2 separate regions of the Homo sapiens genome follow, and region 2 is linked to region 1. The links are contacts of gene promoters, found by promoter capture Hi-C in blood cells and fetal thymus (Javierre and others, 2016). All regions are on one chromosome and are shown on one strand. The core of a region is centred on a gene start or on the middle of the fragment in contact, and the rest is flanking DNA. Distances in the headings are between cores, read along the strand shown.

Region 1 (2,562 bases), core at 22-2,521:
GTCACCATCATGGGCCGGGCACTCACAGGCACCCACTCCGAGGCTGAGGGGATGGAGAGAGTGTGAGGTCTTTGCAATGTGGCCACAGGCGCCCCTCTCCATGGGGCTTCTTTTCCTGCTGGTGATCTGGGGAAATCAGCCTCCCTCTCTGGGCCTCATTTTCCCCTTGTTTGCCTTCCCTGACTTCTTGTCAAATGGCATCAAAGACACCTGATGTTAGAGCCCTGAAATTGTGGCTAGAGATGAGGTTGTTGAAGCCCAGAGAGGGTTGGACACATTTGCAAAGTCACACAGCAAGGTAGGGGCAGAGGCAGAGGCCAGGCTGGACTTGGGCCATGGAGGGGGACAGTGGCAGCAGGGATGTGGCCCCCACACCCCCACCCCATTCCCGCTTTCTCCTCACTGTCTCTTACGCTAACATTCCCCTCTCCAGCTCCTCCCTTTCCACTTCCTACAGTTCGGGGTCCTCTGAGACTTAGCACTTCCTTCCCTTCTCACCAAAGGAGAACCCAGTGTCCCCTTACCCTTCCCTTACTCAGAAGCTCCTTGGAGCTGAGGACAAGGGAGCCCCTCAACCCACCCACCTACCCTTTCTTGCTCTCCTGCTGGTGGAGCAAGAAAGGGCAGGTGGGTGGGTTGAGGAGCCTACTGCTCGCATCCCCTCCTTCTGTATCTCTCCCAGACTGACCAACCACAGGGCCTGTGCACTTGTCCCTGCAGCCCTCCATGACAACCTCCCCTGGGTGTATGCAAGACTTAGCCCAGCACTCACCTCCCTCTCTGCAGAGCTCCAGCACATAGCCCTGGAGGCCCAGCCTCCCCAGCCTCTCTGGGGGCTCCCAGCTCACAGTCACAGAGCTGCTGCTCACATCATCCAGGGTCAGCAGCAGTGGGGCACTGGGGACATCTGGGGAGATGAAGAGGTTCATGGCCAAGAGCTCCCCTCCACCCCTGACATGCCTGCCTCCCTCCTCCCCCTGCCCCACCTTCAGTCACCTTCACTTGGGGGTGCAGGCTTAGTGGCTGTGGAGGCTGTAGGGGCCTGTGGGGCAGGGGCCTGCGGCTTGGGCACCTGCTCTTCTCTGGTGGACTCTGATACTGCCACTTCTCCGGGAGGCTCTGCTGTGGGCACCTTGGCAGATTCAGATGCGGTCTCCTCTGGACTGCAGGCAGGGCCCTCGGAGGTGTTTTTTTCCATCATTGCTGGACTGGCTGGGGGGCCAGGGTGGAGTGTGCAGGGGTCAGCCGTTGGGGGGCCTGGGCCTCTAGGGTGCCTGGGACACCTAGGTCCAGGCTTATATAGTCAGGGGCTGCCCCACCCCCAGCAAACGATTCCCAGCTGTGGGGTCAGGTCAAGCAGGAGGACTGGAGGGTGGAGAGGCGCCCAGGCCAGGAATAGCTCTGGGGGAGGAACCACAAGGGCCCCTTGAGGAGTCACTTCCTCATCCATCTCCCCGACTGGCCTTCAACAGCCAGGGTGCTGGTGCCCAGCTGGGGGAGGGCGCAGATGGGTGAGATGGGACATCGAGCAGGCCGCGTGCCAGGTGTCAGGGCAATAGGAGGAAGAACTTCTATCTGGAGAATGAGCCCAGCTCAGGCTCTGTGTGTCTGGCGTCTATGGGGCCACTTGTTCCCAGAGCTTCTCAGACTGGGTGCTGGGGCCCTGACAGTTTGGGACAATCGTCCTTGTGAGCACTCCCAGCTTTGCCTCTGGGGTCCACATTCCCTGGGCTCCCACAGTTCCCAGGGACTCTCGCCTGTGCTGTATGAGGCTGAGGGCCCTAGAGAGGGAGGGAATTGAGATGCTGAGGGTGGAGCTGCTCAGAGGATGGTCCTCCAGCATTGGAACCCCAGGAAGGGGCACTAAGTCTCCTGGCTCCTGTCTCAGTTGGGCGGCTGGTAAGGAGCTCGTCTCCCCTGATGCCTGCTGTGGGCCTCAGTTTTCCACCTGTTACAGAGAACCCCTCGCCCTTCGGGATGGGTTGCAGTTGTAGGCAGATCTGGAAGATGCCCTAGTGGAGGAGAGCACTCTGAAGCTTCTAGACTCTTCCAAGCAGGCTGTGGGCATGGGCTTTCTCAGTGTGCCAAAGGAGGCAGATATGGCCAGATTTCTAGTCATTGATTCATTTGTTCGATAAAATGTTAAGACTGGGAATCACTGGAAAGCCAGAAAATGCCATGTGTCAGGAAGGAGGGAGAACATTAAGAACTTTTATTGCTGGTATTGGAGCAGTCACTCTGGAAAATGTGAGAGTTTTACTAGTGCCTAGTAAAATGGATGAGGTGCCTACTCCGTGACCCAGCCGTGCCGCTCATATAACACCCACACATGCCCCAGGAGACATGGAGAAGAAGGTTCATGGCAATGTTATTTGTAATTGTTGAAATGTGGGGGAAAACAGCTGTCCCTCAACAGTGGGATGGATAAATAACTGTGGAGTGTTTATGCAACTGTAAAGCAAAATATGGGGTCAAATGAGCAACTTCAGCTACTCACAGACCCAGTGATGAGCAGAAGAGCAAGGCACACAGAAATGTTGCGTCTCATCTGTCTCATCTACA
Region 2 (2,562 bases), core at 19-2,518, 110 kb before region 1:
GGACCCACACCCAGGACCAGCTAGGTTTCCTCTCTGCCTGCAGTCTTCTGGGAATGTCTGGGTCACCCATGAAGAGATGGAAACTCTGGAAACATCTACTAAAACAGTGAGTCTGGCCCTTGGCCTTTGTCCCTGGGCCTGGGGTTGGGACTGATACTCCCATGAGGATGAGGGGAAGGCTGTGGGCAGTCAGAGTGGGCTGCCATCGATCTCACGTGAGGTTGGTATCCCTGAGGTGTGATCTGCTGTCACGGTGGAGGGTTGTCGGGAGAGGGGTGAGGCTGGGAGCGGAGCAGTTTGTATGTGTGTGATCCTTCCCAGGAGGTCACAAGCTTGCCCTGGGCCACTGGTGTGCTACAGCGGAGGAGAGTTGGGCTGGGGAGGGCTTTGCCCTGCTATGGACCTGAGCCACAGAGTCTCTGCCCTTGTGCTTCCTCCCTGGTGGAGGAATGGGGAGTGTTGGGAGAGCTGGGCATCTTGCCTGGCTCCCAGTCAAGCCTGGGAGGTGTGTGTTTTTGCCACACACACATTTGCCCCACCTCAACGCAAACATGGGTGCACACACCAACCTTGTGTTCTCTCTTAACCATCCTGACGAGCTTTCCCCAGTCACCCAGCCAGATACTGGGATGTCTTTTTCCTCTCCTTGATGGGGCCTAGGGTAGAGCTGATGGGTTTCTTGACTTTGCCTGTTTCCCCTAACACGCTGCACTCGTTCCTGCTAGGACAGTGAGGAGGGCAGCTGGGCTCAGGTAAGACTCCCTACCCTGTCTAGAACCAGCTCCCAAAACTTCAGGACAGTGTTCTTCTGGTAGGTTCTCTCCGCAGCAGGAATCTCTGAGTCCTTCATATGAAAAGCCCTGGACATAGGTTCTCTGCTCCCATCAGAGTGCCCCCCGCCCCCACCCAGTTCCCTCAAACTGCTTGTTCTGGTTTCTCAGGGTGGCAGGTGAGGAGCCCTGGAGGACTGTGGCCCCTGCATTCCTGGCCCTTCTCCTCAGTCTCATTCTTTTCCTGGGAATAATCAGACCTAGATTAGTATGAGTCTTCTTCCTCTCCCTGTCCCTCTCAGGGGCACCCTGGTGAACTGAGCGAAGGTCTTTCATCCATTTCATGAGCAAACGTTTATTGAGCAAATATAAGGATTAGGCCTTTCCTGGCTCTCTGGATATAGAAGTAAAGAAAGCAAGCCCTCATGGAGGCAGTAAACAAATAAAGGAATAATATCAGTAAACAAACCATGTCAATAGGGATAAAAAAGACAGTCTCGGCTGGGCGCGGTGGCTGACACCTGTAATCCCAGCACTTTGGGAGGCCGAGGCGGGCGGATCACGAGGTCAGGAGATCAAGACCATCCTGGCTAACACAGTGAAACCCCGTCTCTACTAAAAATACAAAAAAAAAATAGCCAGGCATGGTGGCGGGCGCCTGTAGTCCCAGCTACTCGTGAGGCTGAGGCAGGAGAATGGCGTGAACCTGGGAGGCGGAGCTTGCAGTGAGCCGAGATCACACCACTGCACTCCAGCCTGGGTGACAGAGCAAGACTCCGTCTCAAAAAAAAAAAAAAAAAAAAAAAAAAAGATAGTCTCAATAAGTAAACAAATAAAGGGACAATATTGGATAGTGATGCGAGCTGTGAAGAATGAAGCAGGGAGCAGCACTGTGTATATCTGCTCAGGGAAAACCCCACCAGCAGGAGACTGGCTGAATCATTCATGCCATAAAACACCCTTGGCAGAGGTGATGGGTCGGGGGGGATCCGAGCCATAGGGTGTGAAATGAAGAATGCAGATCCTAAAAGATGCATGGAATTTGATCCCAAAACTCAAAACCAAACAAAATTAATAATATGTTGTTTAGGGAAATATACATGGATGATTGTAAAAAGTGTAAAACAGTTTTTTACAACCAAAGGAATAGTCAGAAAACTCAGCATAGTGGTTCCCTTTTAGAGGGGCAGTAGGAGATGTGTGCTGACAGCGAGCATCAGTGTGCAAACAGTACAGTGTGGGTAATGCTCTGCTGCTTAGCTTGGTTGGTGTCCACTGTTGCTAACTTCATTTATATGCTTCATAATGGGCACATTACATATAGTCTTATATGTATCAGCTATTACATTGTAAAAGAGAACAAAATAGACTTTTTCTATCTGAAAACATCAAGTAAGGGTAAGGAAAGAGTGAGGTAGGGTCGCTATGAAAACTAAAGCTTTCTCAAGTTGGGTGGTCACGGAGCACCCTGCCCAGGTCAGGAGGCCACGTCCACATGGCACAGGCCCTGCAGGACCACACGGCAGGGTGTGCGTGGGAAAGCAACAGAGGACCTGGAGTGTTCTTGGAGCAGAGGCTCAGGCCTTAGAGAATGAGTGCTGCTGGCTATTCAGGCACAGGCCACCACCCTTTATTTTTTTCAGTCTTCTGCCAACATTTAACTTCCTTGCTTCCTCCATGAAGCCAGCCTTGTCCCGGAGTGAGACAGGCTTCCTTTGCCACGCTGCAGGTCCTCTGTAACACAGCCTCTCCCCTGGGCTCAGCGGGCTTGAGGCTCACTGAGAGTCAGGAA

What was found. Contacts are between HindIII fragments. The CHiCAGO score rates a contact against its expected background, and 5 or more counts as called.
Region 2: a fragment that was not itself captured here is called in contact with the fragment with the promoter of MYBPH in region 1 in 1 of 17 cell types (M0 macrophages); the score reaches 5.8 in M0 macrophages.

What each region holds. Positions count from the first base shown.
Region 1 is chr1:203,174,555-203,177,116 of GRCh38, forward strand. It overlaps MYBPH (myosin binding protein H), which reads right to left and starts at 1,272. Exons shown (of 11, transcript NM_004997.3): 1 at 997-1,272; 2 at 773-907; 3 at 1-43. The coding sequence starts at 1,201. The HindIII fragment of the contact is 10,255 bases long and covers 1-2,034 here.
Region 2 is chr1:203,060,927-203,063,488 of GRCh38, forward strand. It overlaps PPFIA4 (PPFI scaffold protein A4), which reads left to right. Exons shown (of 30, transcript NM_001304331.2): 23 at 44-106; 24 at 726-752. Among named protein-coding and RNA genes, the nearest start is that of MYOPARR, 22 kb to the right of the region's middle. RefSeq lists an enhancer at 83-667. The HindIII fragment of the contact is 1,876 bases long and covers 331-2,206 here.